Regions from separate parts of the Homo sapiens genome. Here all the other regions are linked to region 1. The links are contacts of gene promoters, found by promoter capture Hi-C in human tissues and cell types (Jung and others, 2019). All regions are on one chromosome and are shown on one strand. Each heading gives the region's core, a stretch centred on a gene start or on the middle of the fragment in contact. The rest is flanking DNA. Distances are from core to core; before and after follow the strand shown.

Region 1 (2,823 bases), core at 227-2,726:
CCAGGTTGGCTGTCTGGCTTCTCCCACTGAGACACACCTAGACTGGAGGCAACCCCAGACCACCATACATCCTGCTGTCTGTGTTTTAGCCCTAGCTGCCTGACCTGGCTCAGGAATTAGTGAATGTGATCAAGAATGGGGGTGTAAGAATGGTGACTGAGCACGGGAGCCAGGAGCCAGGAATGTATTGGGGAGTGGGGGGCACTGAATCAGCAGGCTGCAGGAGCCAAGCACACTGGCAAAGCAGATGGAGGAGCCCGGAGTGGGGAGAGCGCAGGGCTGGGCTCCCACCCCCTATCAGGAACCGGAGACCAAGGAGGACCTAGGCAGAGAGCTGGGAAGCCCCACGGGGGATGTGAGGGAGAGGAGGAGGGAGGGGCTTTCATCACTTCCCCTGTGCTCAGAGCCCCCAGAACCGGGGATCCAGAGCTCGGGGCGCCTTCTCCAAACTTCCCCAGTCCTGATGGGAGTCCCCAAACCATCTTCTTGGGGCTAGATGGCCTCCCCAAGTCTAGGGGGTTCAGGCTATGAGACACGGGGCTTGGACACACGGTGCTCTCCCGAGTGCCGCCTACTCTTATCTCCGTTTGCAAATCTCTTTTCTAAATCTGTGTTTTGAGCCCTCTCAGCTGTCCCTGAGCACTGTTCACCCGCCTCGCCTTACCCCACCAGTCCGAGGGTAGTTGCTGCGACAGCGCCAGACGCAGGGGTGGGATGGGTCAGACTGACTAGGTTCGGGTTCGAGACCCGGCTAACAGAGAGCATCCCAGGACCCACACCCAGGGACTTCTGGCCCTGTTGCCTCGCCTGAAGCAGTGTTGACCCCGAACCTTCGAACCTTCGGGGAAACAGCGCCTAGCAGGAGACGATGGCCCCAGCCTCAAGAGGGGCGGGTAGGGAGGAGAGGGTGAGAATAGGCTGGCGCCAAGCTGGGCTGCTGGGGGTTCGGGGAAGGCGGGAGCCCTGGCGAGGGTCCGGCGGCCCGGGTGCAAGTGGGCGAGGGTCGGACTCACGCGTGCCGTCGAAGCGCGTAGCGATGGTGTCCAGGAAGGTGTTCTGCGGCGCCAGGAGGCCCCGCATGGCCGGCATCTTAGGCGCCCGCGGCTGCCCGCCCCATCCCTCCGGGGTGCGGGGACTCCGCGCCGGGGGAGGGCGCCCAGCTCGGCCGCCCCCCGCCGGGCCCCGCGCTCCCTAGCGCAGCCGTCGGGGGGCAATGCGCAGACCGGGATCCGGGGTCGCGCCGGACGCTGGCGCGCGAGGGGGCGTCCGCGCCGTCGGGGCCCGGAGCATGGCGCGCGGCCCCTCGCGCCCTCGCCGCCCACAAATCCCGGGCTCCAGGCCCCGCGGCCGCCGCGCTCTCAGCACCTCCCGCCGCGGCAGCGGCTCGCGTGTCGGCTGCGGGTGGGCTTCCGCTCGGCTTCGCTCGGCGCCGGCTCTCGGCAGCTCCCTCCGTCTGTCGGGGAGAAGCTGCAGCCTCCCTCCCTCCCTCCCGCGCCCGCCGCCTGCACCGGGGTAACCATGGAGACGGGGCACACCCAGCCAGGGCCGCCTCCTTAAAGGGACAGGCCTCCCGCGGAGGGCTCCCCTCCCTTCGGGACCTCGGCGGGGGCGGGGAGGTGGCGGCCGCCCTGATCCCACCCCGCGGGCCTCCCCGCCCGTACCTCGGAGAACCACTGGCGAGCGGCCGGCCCCCTTTGGCTCACTCGGCCTCAGCCGCAGAGGGGAGGCGTCTTTCTCTGCAGCCCGGGGGCTCTCCGAGAGCCTCCTAGCAGCCTCTCCTCCCCCGGCGGAATGGGAGGGGGGCTCGGGGCGTGGGGGGCAGGGGACGCATGCTGTGGAAGATGCTCTCCCCGAGGAAAATGCAGTGGGCAAGGGGACAGGGCGACAGGCGCAGGTGAAGGCCCTGCGGCCAGCGGAGGCCGGCGCTCTAGAGGGGCTCCAGCCGCACCCGGGAAATCTAAAAGCAGATGGGGCGGGGGTTCTGCGCGCACAGCTGCCCGGCCCTCGAGACTTTCTCATCCTCAACTTGACGCTCTGGAAAATGGATCCAGCTGCTCCTATGAGGTGTCTCCGCAAGCAGGAGCTGCCTGGAAACCAGAGGGTGGGTAGCCCTAGGAGTAAGGGTCAGACGTCCTCCGTGTGACCCCGTGGGCGGAAAGGGTGTGTGGTGGGGAGGGGAGCGCCAGACCCCTTGTCCTGCCCCTCCATTTCCCTCTGGCATTTGTCACCTCTTGCCTCTCCTAAGCGCGCTAGAGGGTCAGGTGGTAAATACAGGGGACCGGCAGGGGTCAGACACTGCGAAAAAACTTCCGAACCTTGTGCGTGCGGGTCCTGGCACCAGGAGAGCGAGGAAGGCCGAGCCCCGCGCCTCACGCAGCTCGTCCTGGAGAGCTCCGCGCGGCGCCGCGCGGGGTGCTGCCCTGGGGCGGCTGCAGGGAGCCCCTTCCCGGCGGGGCGGAGCCGGGCCCGGGGCGGCCGTCTTTTCTTGGCCTCCCGCGCTGCGACGGTCCCCCGGACTTGCCTGCCAGCGCCGCTCCTCCTCCCTCCCACGATTTGCCAGCGAGCGCGGCTGCCGCCCGCGCCCAGAGGAGCCGCCGGGGCCAAAACAGCAATTTGTTCCCTAACGAGCGAAGCGGTAGGCTCAGCACCCCCATCCCTCGAGACGCACTCACAGTCACCAGCATCAGAAAGATGCTACCCCTCATCAGCGACGAGAGCCAAAGCCCCAGGCACCTGTATCTAAATGAGCTGGCGCTTTGGGAAGGGAGGACGCGCTCCTCCTTCTCCGGTCCTGTGAAGCCTGGAATCTGGTCCCCAGGACGA
Region 2 (2,929 bases), core at 81-2,580, 70 kb before region 1:
TCCCAAAGTGCTGGGATTACAGGCGTGAGCCACCACGCCCAGCCTGTTTTTCAATTCCAGAAGCTCTGACTGATTTATTTTCAAGATGTTTATCTATTCCTTCATTTTGTGGATTGCTTTAGAAGTTTCTTTAGGTTGATGTTCAACCTTGTCTTGGATCTTGTTGAGTTTCCTAGCAATCCATGCTTTGAATTCTTTATCTGTCATTTCTGAGTTTCAATTTTGGTTAAGGACTAGACATCTAGTGCGATCCTTTGGTGGTGTCACTACATTCAGATTTTTCATGGTGCCAGAATTCTTGCTTTGGTTCTTTCTCATCTGGAGATGCTGGCAATTCTAATTTGTGTGTGGGGGGACAGAATTTTTTTCTTTTTATTTCTTTCCCTATAATATCGGTTTTTTTTTTTTTTCCACCTTCCCTTTCCCTCTCCCCTGCCTAGGGGGTAATGACTGTAGAGAATATTAGATTGGGTCTTTTGGCTTTGCTTCTATAGCCTTGTATACTATCAGCAGATTTTATATTGGGTTGTGTGGTTTGATGTACAGGCCAGTAGATGGCACTTATAAGTAAGAGCCAGCTGTGGCCAGCGTGGCTGGGTATATTCTTGATCCTTGTTTACTGGCAGAAGCTCTCTGTTGCCTCAGGCAATGGGCTGATCCATGGAATGCACAGTGGCTTGAGCTCCCTGCTCAGTCCCAGGAGGTAAGATGAGTGGGGCTGGACCAGAGCAGGCCTGTCTACAGGTCCCTCAATGGCAGGCACAGCACCAACACCAAGGGAGAATCCAGTGGGCTGCCACCCAGTGCCCAGAGGTGTTGCTAGTTGTTGAGTTGGGAAACCTCCTTGGCCCCAAGTTCTATGCACAAGGAACCAGGGTGGCCTAAACTCCTAATCCAGGAGAGTGCATGCTCCAGGTGTCTGAGTGTGGAATGCAGAGGGCACTGCTGCACCACAATCTCTACACAGGGAGGGTGGGGTGGCAGGCTGCTAATTCATGTGAACGGATGCTCCGACTGCCTAGAGATCTGTCTGGGCATGGGGTGGATAGGGTGCCTCTTCACCATGGTCTCTATACAGGAAGGGTGTGCCAACTCAGACTGCAAATGCAGGCAAGCAGGTGCTCCAAATTCCTGAAGATCTGCCTGGGTGTGGAGCAGAGTGAGCCCCACTTCACTAGAGTGTCTGCACAGGAAGGATAGGGCAGCTCAGGCTGCTGATCTGGGTGAGTGGGTGCTCCAAATGCCTGGAGATCTCCCTGAGTGTTGAGCTGAGAGGGCCCCACTGCACCATGATCTCAGGAGAACAGTCTAGCATACCAAGCAATAACTCACTCAGACCAGTCCACAGGTCACCAAGCTGACCCTGGTTGCATCTTGTTGCCTAGGAGAAACCACAGCTGTAGCAGTCCCTTTCCCACCCCAGTCCTGTGACAGGGAAGAGCACATTGCCAGCACCTACTGCAAGGTGCTTTCTACAATTCTGGCTGTAGAAACCTCTATGCACCTCGAGAGCAGGCACTCCAATCTCTGGCCCAAGACTAAAATGCCTGTGTGGCCACGCTACTGTGTCGCCAAAGAATGACTAACTTTGTATGCCTGGATTAAAAGTGGCATCCTGGGCCTGGGAAATGCCTACAGCTTTTCCCAGTGTCTTTCCTTCTCAGTGTCTCCAAATATCTTCTCAAGTTACCTCCAGGACTTGGGAGAAACAAAGTGCTCTCCCTTGGCCTCTGTTGCTTGTATCTCCAGTGGAAAGGGCACTTTCCCAAAGTGCCCTTTCCACTGGATGGAAAGAGCCTGTCTGCCTCTCTCATGTACTGGGGCTTCACTCACTTTTATGAGCCAAATGCCATCACGGGGGCTGTTTGCCTTTGTTTTCCTCCCTGAGACCTAGGGTGTTCTTCATGATTCTGTTGGATTCCCATTTTCTTTCTTGAATTAAAGCCCACAGAGTTGATCTTTATGCACTACCTTGCAATTTCCAAGTGACTGAGGCACACTAACAGCCCCAAATCTGCCATCTTGGGGAAAAAAAAGGTTTTTGGTTTTTTTTTTTTTTTTGGAGACGGAGTCTTGCTCTGTCACTCAGGCTGGAGTACAGTGATATGATCTCAGCTCACTGCAACCCAGGACTCCTGGGTTCAAGCAATTCTCCTGCCTCAGCTTCCAGAGTAGCTGGGATTACAGGTGCACACCACCACACCCAGCTAATTTTTATGTTTTTAGTAGAGACAAGGTTTCACCATGTTGGCCAGGCTCATCTTGAACTCCTGACCTCAAGTGATCCACCCGCCTCAGGCTCCCAAAGTGCTGGGATTACAGGCATGAGCCACCGCACCCGGCCAACTTTTTTTTTTTTTTTAAGGTATGAAGTCTTGCTAAGTTGCCCAGGCTGGACTTCAGCTCCTGCAGTCAAGCAATCCTCTTGTTTCAGCCTCCCAATCAATTCATTTTCTTTTATGTCTATATTTGTGAGCAATATTAGTCTGTAGTACTTTTTTTTCTTTTCTTGTCATGTTTTTCTGGTTTTGGTACCAAGATAATGCTAACCTCAGCTGGGTGCGGTGGCTGATGCCTGTAATCCCAGCACTTTGGGAGGCCAAGGTGGGTGGATCACCTGGGGTCAGGAGTTTGAGAGCAGCCTGACCAACATGGTGAAACCCCATCTCTACTAAAAATACAAAAATTAGCTGCGCGTGGTGGCACGCACCTGTAGTCTCAGCTGCTAGGGAGGCTGAGGTGGGAGAATCACTTGAACCCAGGAGGTGGAGGTTGCAGTGAGCCGAGATCACGCCACTGCACTCTGGCCTGGGCAACAGAGTAAGACTCTGTCTCAGAAAAAATTAAAAAATAAAATAAAAATAATGCTAACCTCATAAAATGATTTGAGAAGTGTTCTTTACTATTCAATTTTTTGAAAGAGTTTTTA
Region 3 (3,223 bases), core at 137-2,636, 110 kb after region 1:
ATATATCTATTATAAAGGGTTAATATCCAGAATTTATGAAGAACTCCTGCAAATCCACAACAACAACAACAACAACAAAAACCCAACTGTACAATAGGCAAAGGAGTTAAACAGGCATTTCTCCAGAGAAGATAAATAAATGGTCACCAAACACGTGAAAAGATGCTCAATCACTCATTATTAGAGAAATGCAAATCAAAACCACAATGATCAGGAGCTCATGTGCTCTTAAAAAAGCAAAACAAAACCAGGGTCAGGTTGAAATGGCTTACGCCTGTAATCCCAGCACTTTGGGAGGCCGAGGTCGGCAGATCACTTGAGGTCAGGAGTTCGAGACCAGCCTGGCCAACATGGTGAAACCCTGTCTCTACTAAAAATACAAAAATTAGCCAGGCATGGTGGTGCACACCTGTAGTCCCAGCTACTCGGGAGCCTGAAGCAGGAGAATCGCTTGAACCTGGGAGGCGGAGGTTGCAGTGAGCTGAGATCACGCAACTGCACTCCAGCCTGTGTGACAGAGAGACTCCGTCTCAAACAAAACAAAACAAAACAAGACACAATGAGTTAACACCTTGAACCCACTAGGATGGCTGCTACCCAAAATAAAACAAAGTAAAAACAAAAACAGAAAATAAAATAAGTATTAGTAAAGATGTGGAAAAATTGGAACCCTTGTGTACTGCTGGCAAGAATGTAAAATGGTAATGGCCACTATGGAAAACAGTATAAAGGTTCCCAAAAAATTAAAATTAGAACTACCACATGATCCAGGACTCCCAACTCTGGATACGTATTCAAAACATCTCAAAGCTGAATATCAAAGAGATATTTGTGTACTCATGTTCATGGTAGCATTATTCAGAAAAGAGGTGAAAGCAACCGGTGTCTATCAAAGGATGAATAGATAAAATGTGGTATATACATACAAGAGAATATTATTCAGCCTTTAAAAAAAAGGAAATCCTGTCACATGCTACAACATGGAGGAACCTTGAGGACAATGCACTAATTGAAACAAGCCAGTTGCAAAAAGACAAAAACTGTATGATTCCACTTATATGAGGTAAAGTAGTCAAACTCATAGAAACAGAAAGTAGAATGGTGGGCCAGGGGCTGGGTTGTTATTTAATGGGTATGGAATTTCAGTTTTGCAAAGATAAAAAAACTTTGGGCGATCTGTTATACAACAATGTGAATATACTTAACGCTCCTGAACTTTCATTTACATATGTATATATATTTTGAGACGGAGTCTCACTCTGTCGCCCAGGCTGGAGTGCAGTGGTGCTATCTTGGCTCACTGAAACCTCCGCCTCCTGGGTTCAAGTGACTCTTCTGCCTCAGCGTCCCCAGTAGCTGGGACTACAGGCGCCTGCCACCACACCCAGCTAATTTTTGTATTTTTAGTAGAGACAGGGTTTCACTATGTTGGCCAGGCTGGTCTCGAACTCCTGAACCCATGATCCACCTGCCTCACCCTCCCCAAGTGCTGGGATTACAGGCATAAGCCAGCACGCCCAGCCACCTGTGTGTTTTATCATCATTTTTGCAAAAATCCAAAATGATGACAAAACACACAGGTACTGAGGTGTGGACAAACAGGCCCCTCACATCTAAGTGAGAATGTAAATTTATACAGTATCTTTGGAAGACAACTAAGCAGTAGCTGTCAAAATTAAAAATGTATATATTATTTGACCCAGGAAGACAATTTGTTTTTTTTGACAAGGTCTTGTTTTGTTGCCCAGGCTCACTGTACCCTCAACCTCCCAGGTTCAAACGATCCTCCCGAGTAGCTGGGACTACAGGTGCACACTACCACACCTAGCTAATTCTTGTATTTTTTGTAAACACAGGGTTTCATATGTTGCTCATGCTGGTCTCAAACTGCTGAGCTCAAGTGATCCTCCTGCCTCGGCCTCCCAAAGTGCTGGGATTACAAACATGAGCTATCACACCCACCCTAGCAAGACAATTTCTAGGAATTTACCTTGCAAGGCTGTTTGCAAATGTATAAACCTATGTATTCAAGGTTATCCAATGCAACATTATTTATAAGAGCAAAATATTCAAACTAATTGTCAATTAATAGGACACTGGTTTAATTAATTGTAATCTGTCCACATAATGAGAATACTGTGCAAATGTTTTTGAGAAAAGTTCTTTGGGCCCGGTGCGGTGGCTCATGCCTGAATTCCCAGCACTTTGGGAAGCCGAGGCGGGCAGATCACAAGGTTGGGAGTTCAAGACCAGCCTGACCAACACGGTGAAACCCCGTCTCTACTAAAAAAGCAAAAGATTAGCTGGGCGTGGTGGCGCGTGCCTGTAGTCCCAGCTACTCAGGAGGCCAGGGCAGGAGAATCACTTGAACCCAGAAGACGGAGGTTGCAGTGAGCCAAGATCGCGCCACTGCACTCCAGCCTGGGCGACAGAGCGAGGCTCCACCTTAAAAAGAAAAAAAAAAAGTTCTTTATATATTTATTAAGTGAATATGATGGAGAAAGTAATGTATTTGCACTGGTTTGCACATATATAAAAACTGTATACCTGGAAGGATAGACAAAAAACTAGTAGCAGTGATGATCTCTTGAAGAATGGAAACTGAAAAGATAGGAAACTAGGGTAAGAAAGACTTTTCAGTCTACCTTTTTATATTTTGACATTGGAATAATATAAACATCTTATCTGTTCAAAAAAATTAATAGCGCACCCTTTTTAAAAAGACCCCAGCTGGGCACAGTGGCTCATGCCTGTAATCCCACTGAGGCGGGTGGATCATTTGAGGTCAGGAGTTCGAGATTAGCCCGGCCAACATGGTGAAACTCCATCACTACTAAAAATACAAAAATTAGCCAGGTGTGGTGGCACATGCCTGTAGTCCCAGCTACTCAGGAGCTGAGGCAGGAGAATTGCTTGAACCCAGGAGGTGGAGGCTAAAATGAGCCCATATGGTGCCACTGCACTCCAGCCTGGGTGACAGAGAGAGATTCTATTTCAAAAAAGTAAAAATAAATAAGACCCTTACCCAGTAAATTAAATCAAAGCTGAAAGCCTTCATTTGAATCTAAATAATATAATTCTAACTCAGAAACCCAATCAACAGGTTCATGAAATGTGTCAAGAAGATAAATGCTAACCTACTACACCTGCAGATAATGATGGAAAACAAGAAAATGAGAGGTTGCAAATAAAAACATTCTTCTCATCTTTAAAGGGTTTTAAT
Region 4 (2,986 bases), core at 335-2,834, 76 kb after region 1:
CTGGGATTACAGGCATGCACCACCACACCCAGCTAATTTTTTTTTTTTTTTTTTTAAGCAGAGACAGGGTTTCTCCATGTTGGTTAGGCTAGTCTCGAACTCCCAACCTCAGATGATCTGCCCACCTTGTCCTCCCAAAGTGCTGGGATTACAGGCGTGAGCCACCACACCTGGCTAAGACAGAGTCTTACTATGTTGTCCAGGCTGATTTTGAACTCCTGGCTTCAAGCCATTCTCCTGCCTCAGCCTCCCTAAGTGCTGAGATTATAGGCTTTAGCTACCACACCCAGTCGGAAAGTGTTTTAAAACAAGATTTTGGTGATGGTGCACAACTCCATAAATTTACTAAAAATAATCAAATTATACACTTGGGCAAATTTTAAGGTATTTAAATTATACCTCAATAAAACTGTGTTTAAAAGGGCTTAGATGTTGCCACACTGTCAAATCACTATCAAAGAGTTCCTAAACACTCTTCATTTCTATATACTTCTCCAGTTCACAGACAGGAATAGGGTCTACAGCCCACACTCTAAGAAGCACAGCTCTGACTTCTGCTAGATATTGGCTAATAGGCTTGGAGTAATCAATAGTTTTAACTGAAACTGACTTAATTTAATTTAAGCTGTTCAAGTTTAACTCCACTAAGTATTTCATTAAATAAGGAATTTACAAGTATTACTGACAAAAGGAAAATATGAAAACATGGTCTATTGCTGAATAAAAACATAACTCATTACAAAATGAGAGCCTGTAAATGAAATACCACTAAGAACAATGACTACCATAGACCCTTCTTTTTAATGTAGTATAACCAAGTTGATAAAGTCAGTGTATTTACAGATTAGACTACTAAAACCCAAAGCAATGACACTTTAAACGTATAAATGAATAAATGAAATGTTGTAATATTTTATATGTCATGGGACCAAATATCAGACATGCAAATGAATTACATGCATAGATTTGTTTCAGAGAAAGTCCCAACAACACATAAGCTTTACTTTGTTTCCAACTAAGTGTAAATCTAGGCTAAGTTCAACCAAAACTGGTAAGCACTTAGTGTCTATGTTGTAGTCTATTTTTTTTTTTTTTTTTTTTGAGACAGAGTCTCTCTCTGTTGCCCAGGCTGGAGTGCAGTGGCATGATCTCTGCTCACTGCAAGCTCCGCCTCCTGGGTTCACACCATTCTCCTGCCTCAGCCTCCTGAGTAGCTGGGACTACAGGCACCCGCCACCACGCCCGGCTAATTTTTTTTTTTTTTGTATTTTTAGTAGAGACGGGGTTTCACTGTGTTAGCCAGCATGGTCTCAATCTCCTGACCTTGTGACCCACCCACCTCGGCCTCCCAAAGTGCTGGGATTATAGGCGTGAGCCACCAGACCCGGCCTATGTTGTAGTCTAAAATTTAAATTCTTTTATAGTTAATATTTAAATTCATTTTATAGTAATTAGAAAAAAGCAACTGATGGGGACAGGAGGCAGAGAAATTCTAGGCAGAAAAGGGTGGGTCACCGGTTAAAACGCCACCCTCAAGCCAAAATGCCTGAAACCTTGGCCCAATGTGAGAACTTATATCTCTGTTTTCCTGTTTGTTGCCTTTTCCTAAACCACCCATGGCCCCACCCTGCCCCATTCTGTGCCTATAAAGACCCCAGACTCAGCTGGCAGAGAGGAGAACTAGCTGGACGTCAGGATGTCGGAGAGAAGTGGGTTGACTTTAGAGGGACAGCTTGATGGTGTAACTTTGGAGAAAAAACTAGCTGGAGACAGCTGGACTTCAGGGAAAGATTATCTACCCGCACCCCACCAACCCCTTTTCAGCTCCCCTTCCTGCTAAAAGCCACTTTCATCAGCAATAAAATCTCCCGCATTTACCATCCTTCAATTCATTCGTGTGACCTCATTTTTCCTGGACACCAGACAAGAGCTCAGGAGCCACGAGTGCAGATACAAAAGGCTGTCACACTGGCCCTTTGCCCTTGCTGGCAGAGGGCAGCCACCCCACACACGGGGGGAAAGGGCCCACTGAGCTGTTAACACTTAAGCCGTCCACAAATGGCAGAGCCAGAAGAGCACTGTAACATGCCCTCTGGAGCTTCGGGGGTCACAGGCACCCCACAGCCTGGATGCTGCCACGGGGCCCACACAGAGTTCACCCCTGCTGGTACTGAAGCAGCCAGCCGGTTCCAGCACTCATGCCCTCCAGTTCCTTCCTTGTTCACTCGCGCTCTCCTTCCTGTGAGGAGTTGAGAGAGGCAGGCTGAGTAAAGGAGAGACTCCTGCAAAGGGGCCAGGGAAATATCCTGCTTCACAATGATACTTTTTTTCTACAGCTCTGGCAAAACACAGACATGAAATAAAGACTCTCTAGTTTTAAAAAGGTCAAAGTAATTTGCTGAAGTTAACTTTTTTTTTGGAAAAATTAAATGCTCAACTTTTCCAGAACCCTATTTTTACTATAGTATTTCTCATTTGCAGGGTGAAAACAGATGCTCAATGTTTCAAGCATAACTGGGAAAAAACAAACTGAATTATAACAACTAAGAAAAAACAAACTTGGGTTATTAAAAAAAACTTTTCCGTTGGTAAATTTCATTCCACAGAACAGTTCAGCTTTAGTAATCTAAGCATTCCTTAGAGCTCAGATTCTTCCTATAGATTTACTACACAATGAAGCTACAACTACAAATCTGGTTTATTTACTTTCTTATAAGGTTTTTGAATTATCAAGTCAAAATTAGGTTTAAAAGAATTTTCTTCATATTTAACATGTGAGACCTGGATCTATGAATAGCTTTGCTTTGAATTAAAGAACATTAACTTTGAACTGGAAATTAAATTGAATGAGGGGAAAACGCCAAGATATCTATGATCATTCTTTTAATCAATATATTCCAATTATGTACAATAGTTCTAGTGCTGTTGTTCACTTTGTCCCTTGAAATTTTTGCAGCTATTCTAGAAAAGTAGAAAAAGGTTTTAC

Evidence for each region. Contacts are between HindIII fragments. The study calls those that stand out against the background at their distance.
Region 2: a contact is called between a fragment that was not itself captured here and the fragment with the promoter of KCNH3 in region 1, in 3 of the 25 tissues and cell types used here (aorta, dorsolateral prefrontal cortex and mesenchymal stem cells).
Region 3: a contact is called between a fragment that was not itself captured here and the fragment with the promoter of KCNH3 in region 1, in 2 of the 25 tissues and cell types used here (lymphoblastoid cells and psoas muscle).
Region 4: a contact is called between a fragment that was not itself captured here and the fragment with the promoter of KCNH3 in region 1, in 2 of the 25 tissues and cell types used here (adrenal gland and mesenchymal stem cells).

What each region holds. Positions count from the first base shown.
Region 1 is chr12:49,537,683-49,540,505 of GRCh38, reverse strand. It overlaps KCNH3 (potassium voltage-gated channel subfamily H member 3), which reads right to left and starts at 1,476. Exons shown (of 15, transcript NM_012284.3): 1 at 1,014-1,476. The coding sequence starts at 1,089. RefSeq lists enhancers at 547-1,356, 1,357-2,168 and silencers at 1,486-1,665, 2,396-2,515. The HindIII fragment of the contact is 20,416 bases long and covers 1-2,823 here.
Region 2 is chr12:49,607,624-49,610,552 of GRCh38, reverse strand. It overlaps a transcript of FAM186B not described here. Among named protein-coding and RNA genes, the nearest start is that of FAM186B, 3.4 kb to the right of the region's middle. The HindIII fragment of the contact is 4,316 bases long and covers 1-2,929 here.
Region 3 is chr12:49,430,492-49,433,714 of GRCh38, reverse strand. All of the region lies in intron 2 of SPATS2 (spermatogenesis associated serine rich 2), which reads right to left. Among named protein-coding and RNA genes, the nearest start is that of SPATS2, 65 kb to the right of the region's middle. The HindIII fragment of the contact is 7,181 bases long and covers 1-3,223 here.
Region 4 is chr12:49,461,528-49,464,513 of GRCh38, reverse strand. All of the region lies in intron 3 of SPATS2 (spermatogenesis associated serine rich 2), which reads right to left. Among named protein-coding and RNA genes, the nearest start is that of KCNH3, 76 kb to the left of the region's middle. The HindIII fragment of the contact is 4,568 bases long and covers 1-2,986 here.